Linked DNA regions of Homo sapiens: regions 1 and 3 are each linked to region 2. Evidence: promoter capture Hi-C in 16 types of primary human blood cells and fetal thymus (Javierre and others, 2016). All regions are on one chromosome and are shown on one strand. The core of a region is centred on a gene start or on the middle of the fragment in contact, and the rest is flanking DNA. Distances in the headings are between cores, read along the strand shown. Region 1 overlaps LOC107985664 (a long non-coding RNA gene). Region 2 holds the start of NEXMIF (neurite extension and migration factor). Region 3 overlaps LOC107985664 (a long non-coding RNA gene).

Region 1 (3,944 bases), core at 425-2,924, 700 kb after region 2:
ACTGGGTAATTTATAAAGAATAGAGGTTTAATTGGCTCATGGTTCTGCAGGCTGTGCAGGAAGCTTGGTGCTGGCATCTGCTTGGCTTCTGAGGAAGCCTCAGGAAACTTATGATCATGTGGAAGGTGAAGGGGAAGCAGGCACGTCTTACATGGCAGGAGCAGGAGTAAGAGGGCGAGGGAGGTGCTACACACTTTTAAACAACTAGATTTCAGGAGAACTGACTCACTATCATGAGAACAGCACCAAGGTGATGGTGCTAAACCACTGTGAGAAATCTACCCCCATGATCTAGTCACCTTCCCACCTCCATCATTGGGGATTACAACTGAACGTGATATATTACAGGGACAGGAGCCAATTACTTACAGGACTAGTTACATCTTCCTGTTTTGAATTGAGACAGATGCAGAGTCAGGTTTCAGGACTTTATCCTGGCTATTGTCGTATTCAGGAAACAGCTGGATCTGATCAAGGTTGTGTATAAAAGACAAGGTGCAGAAACCATTTCAAATAAAGATTGGGTGGGGCTACAGTGCTTATGTTCAGTCTGGGTGTTGAAGGAAATTGATGAATCTTTATGTTGGGTGTTGGGGCTTCCATGCTTCCATACCATACAGACCCCAGTGGTGGAGCTGGGGTATAGAGTGGTATAGCCCTGGCAGCATAATTGGGGTTCATGCCTCTGCCATTGTTGGTGCTGGTCAGGCTGTGGTTTATAATCAGGCCTGGTTGTGTGGCAGAACCCATAAGACAGGTTCATTATGAGGGGTGTCGGATGTCAGATGTACAGACATGTACAAACATTTTTCTTTGTGAAGCTTTGTGGTCTAATATATCTATCCTCTTGTTTGTTGTCACAGATGCTGGAGGGAGTGGAGGAAGAAGTTTAATTACCACATACAGCTCTTCCATATGCAAGGTCTCTGGGGCAAAACTGTCATTCTGTCTGAAGCCAGACCCTCAATGTCAGACTAAGAGAGTCGGATGGAGACTACATCTTCTGTGTGTGTTGCAATGGGAGGACTTCTCTCCACCGAGTTTAGTGAGGGTAAGGTGCCAGGAAAAGTGATCATATTCATTCTTATGTTTGTAAAAGAATGATTGTTCACATATCTCTAAAAAGACCAAAACTGTGTATGTTGCAATGTGAAGACTTCCCCCAACCAAGTTTAGTGAGGGTAAGGTACCTGGAAAAGAGATAATATTCATTCTTATGTCTGTAAAAGAGTGATTGTTCACATATCTCTAGGAAGACCAAAAGCTTCTCCCAGCCAGTGATCTGCTTTTCCCTCTGCATTTATTCCTAGTGGTACTTAATCCAGCTTCCTCTCTCACCCAGGACTTGCTGCCTCCTACATTCTTATCTCTCAGAGACTGCAGGGATAAATGTCCAGCTTCTATGTGCCAGAACCTGGGGCACCAGGGAAGAATCTATACAAAGGCCACAAAAAGCACTAAAGCTCAAGAAAATGAATTCTGATGTCATAGTAGGAAAGAAGATAGGCCATGTTAATCACATGATAATTGAGTGGAGTAAGAGAATTTCCAATCAGAGGCTTCATTGTGTGACTCAGGGGCCGTTTTCAGGGAAATAAGTCATAGTCATTCATAAGGAGCATGAATGGTGTGGAGCTGTGTTTTGTGCTTGAAAGAATAGATGGGAATCAGAACCTGGTGGCCAATGTGTGCTCAGCAGAGATATTTTCTGCTTTATCTCTTTGTCAAAGGGTTGTGGGCAAGAGAGTGAAAGATACATTATAACTTAGATCTGTGGTTTAAAAATATCAGTTTGAGAATGATATATTTTAAAAGATGCATTGGAGGGAGTAAGAAGTGCTAAGTAGGTGAAATACTTTTTAAAATTCTAGGTAAGACATGATAATGTGGAAGTATTAGCCAGTGAGACATTACAGACTTATGGTCTATATGATTTTCTTACTGGATTGTGAGATGGTGAGAGTGATTTCACAGTCAATGCTGAAAGGTATTGGTGCCATTAACAAGAAGGGGAACGACGGGGGATAGGTATGGGAGAAACAACACTTTGTATTACTATATTCCTGTTTTCCTTGGTAGAACTTGAAGCTTATTTCATAAAATTTCTACATTTTTTCCAAACAAGTGTTCTGTTTGTTACATGACCGTGTTAGGCTTTTTGTTTTGTTTTGTTTCTCTTTTTGCTTTTTTGTTTTTGTTTTATTGTTTGTTTTGTTTTATTAATTTTAATTTTTTAATTTTTTTTTATATGTTATTGGGGTACAGGTCTTGTTTGGTTACATGAGTAAGTTCTTTAGTGGTGATTTGTGAGATTTTGGTGCACCCATCACTGGAGCAGTATACACTGCACCATATTTGTAGTCTTTTATCCCTCACACCATTCCCACCCTTCCCCTAAGTCCCCAAAGTCCATGGCATCATTCTTATACCTTTGCGTCCTCATAGCTTAGCTCCCACATATCAGTGAGAATGTATGATGTTTGGTTTTTTAATCCTGAGTTACTTCACTTAGAACTATAGTCTCTAATCTCATCCAGGTCACTGCAAATGCTGTTAATTCATAATTCATTCCTATTTATGGCTGAGTATTATATATATATGCCACAATTTTCTTTATCCACTCATTGATTGATGGGCATTGGGGTTGTTTCCACGATTTTACAATTGAGAATTGTGCTGCTATAAACATGGGTGTGCAAGTATCTTTTTCGAATAATGACTTATTTTCCTCTGGGTAGATACCCAGTAGTGGGATTGCTGGATCAAATGGTAGTTCTACTTTTTGTTCTATAAGGAATCTTCACACTGTTTTCCATAGTGACTGTACTAGTTGACATTCCCACCAGCAGTGTAGAAGTGTTCCTTGATCACTATATCAATGCCAACATCTACTCTTTTTTTTATTTTTTGATTATGGCCATTCTTGCAGGAGTAAAGTGGTATCACATTGTGGTTTTGATTTGCATTTCCCTGATCTTCAGTGATGTTGAGCATTTTTTATATGTTTGGTGGCCATTAGTATATCTTCTTTTGATTATTATCTATTCATGTCCTTAGCCCACTTTTTGATGAGATCGTTTGTTTTTTTCTTGCTGATTTGTTTGACTTCATTGTAGATTCTGGATATTGGGCCTTTGTCAGATGTATAGATTGTGAAGATTTCCTCCCACTTTGTGGGCTGTTTGTTTACTCTGCTGACTGTTCCTTTTGCTGTGCAAAAGCTCTTTAGTTTAATTAGGTCCCAACTATTTATCTTTGTTTTTATTGCATTTCCTTTGGATTCCTGGTCATGAAATCCTTGCTTAAGCCAATACCTAGAAAGGTTTTTCCAGTGTTATCTTCTAAAATATTTATAGCTTCAGGTCTTAGGTTTAAGTTCTTAATCCATCTTGAGTTGATTTTTCTATAAGGTGATAGATAAGGATGCAGTTTCATTCTCCTACATGTGGCTAGCCAAGTATCCCAGCACCATTAGTTGAAAAGGGCGTCCTTATATTTTTGTTTCCTTTGTCAAACATCAGTTGGCTATAAGTATTTGGGTTTATTTCTTTGTTCTCTCTTCTGTTCCATTGGTCTATGTGCCTATTTTTATACCAGTGCTATACTGTTTTGGTACTACGGCCTTATATTATAATTTGAAACCAGGTAGTGTGACGCCTCTAGATTTACTCTTTTTGCTTAATCTTGCTTTGGCTGTGTGGGCTATTTTTTGGTTCCATATGAATTTCAGAATTGTTTTTTCTAGCTCTGTGAAGAATGATGGTTTTATTTTGATGGGGATTGCATTGAATTTGTAGATTGCTTTTGGCAGTATGGTCATTTTCACAACATTGATTCTACCCATCCATGGGCATGGGATGTGTTTCCATTTGTTTGTGTTATCTATGATTTCTTTCAGCAGCGTTTTGTTGTTTTCCTTATAGAGGTCTTTCAACTCCTTGGTT
Region 2 (3,573 bases), core at 759-3,258:
CCAGTTAATATGTAAAATGACAGTTACTTAGGACTTTTTTGTTCCCTTCTAAAAATATTTTTTCAATAAGTGTAAATTCTCCTCAGCCATAAGAACGTCACTGCTGTAAATAAAACGTTTGGTCATATGTTACCTCATGTGTAAAAGATGTAAGGGAGATTCACCCCTCCAAAACACAAATGGTCGTAAGGAGTTCAGAGAAGACCATTACAGCACCTTTTCTCACCAAGCAAAATATTCCAGGAACTCCTCCACCAAAAACAACCAAGGATATATTCAAATCCCGGGATTAAAGTGCTTTAGACATTTTTAAAAACAGCCCTGCCAGCCCTACAACACAAATCATGTCTTTTCAGATAACAGTCTAGAAAATGCAACATTAGAAAAAGGCCACATATCTAAATGTAGTGCTGTGCACAGCATTCAACAATATGCTGGGAGCCAAGATCCAGAAGCAAAATATGAGACCCACTTATTCCAAAATGCAACCAGAAGCTTGATAAAAATCAAGAGTGCTGTTGTCGAAATGGGGATGCCAATTTTTTTTTAACTTCGAAAAAGACAGAAAACCTTGCGCGGGTGATTCGGTCCCTCACGAATCAGACAGACAGAAGCAGTCATGCTGAAATCGCTGAATTCCTCAGCGGAACGGCGCCAACTCAGCAGCGCGGTTTCCACACTTTCCCGGAGCGGGACTCCGCTCCCCGCGCCGGCTCACGGCCTTCCCGCCCTACAGGGTGTACAAGACGCGAGCCGACGTGTGCTGCGGGGCGCGGCAGAGAGAAGCGCCAGAAGCCACACAGAAAAGCGTCAATTCGACCGCCACCGAGAGCGCGAAGGGGCCACAAGCCAATTTCCGCAAAGGAGATGAGCTGGGCGAGGCTCGGTCTGGCCTCCAACTTAAACCTGTCCGCAGCCTCGGCCGAGTGGCGCGTGTCCTGGGGGCGCTCTGTGGTCGCCACGGCCGCCCGGCTTCGCACCTTTGCGGCTTTGGTCCGAGCGCCCGGCCTCGGCCGCCGCGTGGGTTTTCCCGCTCTCGCCGAAGCGTGCCATGCCCATGCCCCATTCCCTGGCCAGGCTCTACCCTGCACCAGTCCGAAAGGAGGCGGCACTCTGCCGAGCTGCGTGCGTGTAAGCGCGGCGGCTCCGGTCCGCTCGCTTCCCCTCCCCCCGCAACCCCCTTCCTACGGCGCAAGCACAGAGGCCTTTCCTAGATTGCAGTGCCTGTCAGGGCGAGCCGGGATCTCTCGCCCTAGCGGCCTCGCTCCCTCATACACAGACACACACATTCGCATACAGACGTCCTCCGTTCCGTTTTCCCTTCCTTCTCGTCTAGCTCGACTTACCCCAGTTCATTCCACCCCCTGCGGCCGCCACCCCGAGCCAGCCGGGGAGCCGGCGAGAAGGCCAGGAAGCTGTATGGCAGCGCTCCTACTCACCTCACAGGCCGACTCCCGAGGCGCACGTCGCTGGCGGGCTCAGGCAGCAGGCGCTGTAGCTAGCGCGGTCGCAGTCAAGGCTGGGCTGTCGCCGTCGCCGCAGCTGTTCGAGCTGCCTTAGCCGCCACCGCCGCTGCTACTGCTGCCGCCGCCGCCGCCGCCTCTGCCTCAGCTCCATACGCTGGGCCCGCCAGGTGGACGCGCCTCTCTCCTCGCTCGCTCCCTCAGGCTCCGCCGCCGCCGCGCTAGATGGAGTCAGAGCTGTCGGGCTCTGGCCCTGAAACTCAGAGCCTCCGCGGCTGCCCGGCTGCTCCAAGGGTCCGTGCTTCGCTTACACTGTCGCTCGCCCCGGCTGGAGCTACCTAGCGAGCGGGCTGCGCGCTCGGCGCCTGGAGCCCGCTCTGTGCGGTGGCTGCGGCCGTCCGCGAGAGGGAGAGAGGAGGGCGGCTGCTACTGTCGCTATAGCTGTTAAAGCTATTGCTAAATGCTGCTACTGCCGCTAATGCTACTGCTGTGGCGGCGGTGGTGGCGGCGGCGGCTGCTGCTGCTGCTGCTGATGCTACTGGTTTTCCTTCCCAGGTTCTTCCCCTGCCTCGTCCCCCCTCCTCCCCCTTCCTCCTCCTCCTCCTACTCCTCCTCCTCCTTCTCTTCCTCCTCCCTCTTCTCCTCCCTCTGCCGCTTTTCTCAGAGCCTCTGCAGGCACTGCCTGGTCCCCTCTTCTCCCGGAGCTGTCTCTGCCCATTCAGAAAGGTGCCCAGAGTGGGGCCGCCTCTGCTGCCACCATCGCTGTTGCCCCTGCCATTGTTTCCTCCAACACGGCTGTTCTTGCTGGACGCCTTCCCCCCTCTACCCTTCTTCCCCACCACAGCTCTCCCTTTCCCTCCCGCTCTCCTTACCCTCTCTATGGTCCCTTCCTTATGTGCCCCCCCAACTCTGTCCGTCTGTCCTTCCCTCCCCTCGGGCGCCCGGGAGCGCGCACTGCGCGGCCACCTGTCATAAAGGGCGCGCACCCCCCTTCCCCATTCCCACCCCGCCCCCCACTCGCGTTCCTGCTGCCCTTCCAGTCCACTACGCCAGTGGTGCGTTCTTCCCCTGGCAGACACGCAACCGGACACCACTCTCCCATGCCTTTTAGGGCAGTTGTGTGTGCGGAGAGGGGCACTCTGAAGTTTGGGGAAGAATATTTGAATGGTTTCATCCACCAAGCATCTAACCATTCAACCTTTACCTACTCTTAACTTAAGGGCCTGGGCCCCCAGGAAGGTGGGTCCTTTTTGAAGGGTTGGATGAAGGCAGACAATTGGGGAGTGACGTTTGGGGAATAAAGGAAAGAAGGGAAGCTGAATATGGCCAGGAAGGAAAACAGATCTGCCTGATGGCTGTCATTGAAAAATCTCTTAGGTGGTCATTTTCCTTCAGACGTCCTGGGAACTCAACAGGAAACAGCAAAACGATTGGAGAGCAACTCAGGAGGGACCATTTAGTACTTCTGGAGTCCTGGGTGCAAGGTTGAGGCCTGAGCCTCGGGAGATTTGTCACCACTAGGAGCCAAGGCAAGAGATGAAAAGGTTGGTACTAGAACAGAAGGGGTAAAAGTAGCTACTTTGTGTGCACTTGCTCCAACATCATTGCCAAAGCACAGCTTCTCCAGTCAGGCAGGGCCTCATTTCAGATTTCTTTGCTGCCACAGCTACAGCGTCATTTTGCTACGAGGGCTCAGGCTTTGAGATCTGATGTGTGCAACTTCTCACCATCACCTGTCACACAATCCCTCCCCAGAAACAGTGCAGAGGCGGGGGTATATTTTCTTTTCCCTGGCAAAGTACAGGAGATAAATGTTCCAGATATCCCATTGACAATAAGGTCTGGGTCACTTTACCAAGTTTGAGGCGCTCTACCATGGGTCTTTCATTCCTGGACAATAAACTGTCTGTATGGCTTTTACAACTCCCCATCTCTGTGCCTTTGTTTCTGTCATCCCACTTGCTTGAAACACTCTTGTTATTTCTCCCTCTCATTTTATATCTATGAAACTCATCCATAAATAATAGCTCATCCTGAAATAATTATACTTATTGGGTCCTTACTATGTGCCAGACACTGTGCTAAGCAATTTACATGAATTATTTAATCT
Region 3 (3,751 bases), core at 1,009-3,508, 680 kb after region 2:
TCTCGAGGAGTATCTTTGTGACATTCTCTGTATTTCCTGAATCTGAATGTTGGCCTGCCTTGCTAGATTGGGGAAGTTCTCCTGGATAATATCCTGCAGAGTGTTTTCCAACTTGTTTCCATTCTCACCGTCACTTTCAGGTACACCAGTCAGACGTAGATTTGGTCTTTTCACATAGTCCCATATTTCTTGGAGGCTTTGTTCATTTCTTTTTATTCTTTTTTCTCTAAACTTCTCTTCTCGCTTCATTTCATTCATTTGATCTTCCTTCACTGATACCCTTTCTTCCAGTTGATCACATCGGTTACTGAGGCTTGTGCATTCATCACGTAGTTCTCGTGCCATGGTTTTCAGCTCCATCAGGTCCTTTAAGGGCTTCTCTGCATTGGTTATTCTAGTTAGACATTTGTCTAATCTTTTTTCAAGGTTTTTAACTTCTTTGTCATGGATTCAACTTCCTTCTTTAGCTCAGAGTAGTTTGATCGTCTGAAGCCTTCTTCTCTCAACTCGTCAAAGTCATTCTCCATCCACCTGTGTTCATTGCTGGTTCGGAGCTGCATTCCTTTGGAGGAGGAGAGGCACTCTGATTTTTAGAATTTTCATTTTTTTTCCTCTGTTTTTTCCCCATCGTTGTGGTTTTATTTACCTTTGGTCTTTGATGATGGTGACGTACAGATGGGGTTTTGGTGGGGATGTCCTTTCTGTTTGTTAGTTTTTCTTCTAACAGTGAGGACCCTCAGCTGCAGGTTTGTTGGAGTTTGCCGGAAGTCCATTTCAGACCCTGTTTGCCTGGATATCCTCAGCGGAGCCTGCAGAACAGCTCATATTGGTGAACCGCAAAGGTTGCTGCCTGATTCTTCATCTGGATGTTTTGTCTCAGAGGAGTACCTGGCCTTGTGAGGTGTCAGTCTGCCCCTACTGGTTGGTGGCTCCCAGTTAGGCTACTCGGGGGTCAGGGACCCACTTGAGGAGGCAGTCTGTCCGTTCTCAGATCTCCAGCTGCATGCTGGGAGAACGATTACTGTCTTCAAAGCTGTCAGACAGGGACATTTAAGTCTGCAGAGGCTTGTGCTGCCTTTTGTTTGGCTATGCCCTGCCCCCAGAGGTGGAGTCTACAGAGGCAGGCAGGCCTCCTTGACCTGGGGTGGGCTCCACCCAGTTCGATCTTCCTGGCCACTTTGTTTACCTACTCAAGCCTTGGCAATGGCGGGCGCCCCTCCCCCAGCCTCGCTGCGGCCTTGCAGTTTGATCTCAGACTGCTGTGCCAGCAATGAGTGAGGCTCCGTGGGCGTGGGACCCTCCGAGCCAGGCACGGGATATAATCTCCTGATGTGCCATTTGGTAAGACTGTGAGAAAAGCGCAGTATTTGGGTGGAAGTGACCCGATTTTCCAGGTGCCGTCTGTCACCCCTTTCCTTGGCTAGGAAAGAGAATTCCCTGACCCCTTGCACTTCCCAGGTGAAGCGATGCCTCTCCCTGCTTCGGCTCACACTCACTGTGCTACACCCATTGTCCTACACCCACTTTCTGACAATCCGCAGTGAGATGATCCTGGTACCTCAGTTGGAAATGCAGAAATCATTTGTTTTTTGTGTTTCTCATGTTGGTAGCTGTTCCTATTTGGCCATCTTGGCTGAGGCCCTGCTTTAACTGCTTTCTGTGCACCGTTTGTTTAATCATGTTAAAAACTCTCAGAGGTTATACCATTATCATTCCCTGTTTGGAGATGTAGTAATTAAGACACAGACTTGCCTACAATTCATATAGAAAGTAAGTGATTGAGCCAATATTGAGAACTTAGGTAGCCTGACTCCGTGGCCAAGGCTCTTCAATATTATGCTTTGCTACCTCATAAGAGGCCAAAGATCCTTGAACGAAGGTGAGTAGAAACAGAAAATCTCCTAGTAGCTTTCTCTGCCTTTACTACTTCCCTTCAATCATTTCTTCTTTCTGTGTTACCTACTATTATTGTTATTTTGCCTATGATTAAATACTCCTGTCTCATTAACACTGCCCTCACAGTGACTTGGTAGGAAATCTCTTAGTAGTCCTCATATCTCTGCCTCTATTGTAAGTATTTTATGTGGTGCTTGGTGAGTATTCCTACTAGTTTATCCTACTATGGAACTCTATGCTTGCATATTTCAGAGTCAGAAAGTGAGTGGGGCTGATGGACTGCTGGGATAAACAGAGCAGGCTTTCTATATGAATTAGTTCATGGGTATGTGGAATGAGGATGTCTTGTCTTCATGCTAGAGAAATATCAAAAACCAGGAATAGGGAGCAAGTTTCGCTGAAGGGAGGCTATGCTTGATAATACTAAGTCAAGGAAACTACAGGCAGCTGGTCAAAGCTAGCCTATTACCAGTTTTTGTAAATAAAAATTTATTGGAATACAGCCATCCATTCACTTATGTATTGTCTGTGGCTGCTTTTGTGTGATGACTGCAGAATTGAATTGTTGCAGTAGAGACCATATGGCCCACAGAGGCTAAGATAACTACTATTTGGCCCTTTGCAGAAATATTTTGCCAGCCCTTGATGTATGAGATGGAGCATCCTGTATTATTCGAGGTTTCTATGCAGGGAAATGCTAAGAGATTAAATTTGAGTTTTAGATAGAGACATTTGGAAGCACTGAGAAGAAGAAATCTAGATTCAGGGGCCAGAGAGATCAAAACAGGGTAAAAAAGAACTAGCGAGCACTGAGAGCAAGTAGATAAAAGGGATTAGCATTTAGATGTGCCAGTGAAGATAGGTTTTCCAGGATTTGACTGAAGTGTGTGTGTGTGTGTGTTTGTGTGTGTTTGTATGTGTATGCATGTGTATGTCGAGAAAGGAGGATTTCTAATTCTGAGAAAATGAGAGGACAGAGAGAGGAACATAGTACAAAAAGATAGAAGAAATACCCTCCCATTTCTGTAATTTCTGTTTGAAATGACCACTACATTTCTTTCTGCAGAAAGAGTTTTCTTTGCAGAAATTTTCCCTAGGGCTGGTCTGCCAGTATCTGTATTTCTTAGGCAACAGTGCCCCTAGTGTCTATATGACAGTATCACAATCTGCTAGACAAGATTTCTTGATGAGGGCTTAAAAAAGACCAATTGCAAAGATCACATTGCTGAGACAGTTTTTCTTCTTTGTCAAAATTGATATAGATGACCAGGTACACTCTCACCAGAAATACACTGGTAAAGTCTGCTTATTAGGAGAGGCTGTGGAGGGTGGACCTGGTGTCTTTTTTTTGCCTTGTGAGGCTAATTCATATAAATGTCAGGTATAAAAATAGTATCTTCTTTCAAGAAACTGCCTTCAGCTTTGCCATATCTACAATGCCATGGACTAAGAATAACACCTTAATGAGTTTTGAGGGTTACTTTTCATAGGTGGTCTATGGCAGGAACTACTGAATTTATGAACTGCCCCTCTTTGTCATCCTTTGCCTATCCTTCAAGGCCAGGATAGTTGCCTTCCAGTTGAAGCCTTGTTAGGATGTGAAAGCACAAGAAGATGCCAAGTCAAGATCCAGTCCCAGTTGTGCAAAGCACCACCCCTATCATGTAGAAGCCTGGATGTCTTAGTCCTCAGGGCTGCCCTTACTTTTCCAGGGGATAGCCATAATTCTCAACCAAAAGTCTTTAGTCTCAACCTTAAACACACACTGAGTGTGTCAATTCAGTGCGCGGTCCTCCCTTATACACTTTCAAGGGAGACTGGCCTATCTTTTGGCACTAGCCTCAAGAAGCCAGGA

The links. Contacts are between HindIII fragments. The CHiCAGO score rates a contact against its expected background, and 5 or more counts as called.
Region 1: a contact is called between a fragment that was not itself captured here and the fragment with the promoter of NEXMIF in region 2, in 3 of 17 cell types (erythroblasts, total CD4 T cells and endothelial precursors). The highest score is 7.1, in erythroblasts.
Region 3: a contact is called between a fragment that was not itself captured here and the fragment with the promoter of NEXMIF in region 2, in 1 of 17 cell types (erythroblasts). The highest score is 5.3, in erythroblasts.

The regions. Positions count from the first base shown.
Region 1 is chrX:75,623,838-75,627,781 of GRCh38, forward strand. It overlaps LOC107985664 (a long non-coding RNA gene), which reads left to right. Exons shown (of 5, transcript XR_007068273.1): 3 at 864-1,051. Among named protein-coding and RNA genes, the nearest start is that of ZDHHC15, 100 kb to the left of the region's middle. The HindIII fragment of the contact is 824 bases long and covers 1,263-2,086 here.
Region 2 is chrX:74,923,444-74,927,016 of GRCh38, forward strand. It overlaps NEXMIF (neurite extension and migration factor), which reads right to left and starts at 2,009. Exons shown (of 4, transcript NM_001008537.3): 1 at 1,440-2,009. RefSeq lists a silencer at 888-1,047. The HindIII fragment of the contact is 8,655 bases long and covers 494-3,573 here.
Region 3 is chrX:75,600,989-75,604,739 of GRCh38, forward strand. All of the region lies in intron 1 of LOC107985664 (a long non-coding RNA gene), which reads left to right. Among named protein-coding and RNA genes, the nearest start is that of ZDHHC15, 80 kb to the left of the region's middle. The HindIII fragment of the contact is 4,979 bases long and covers 1-3,751 here.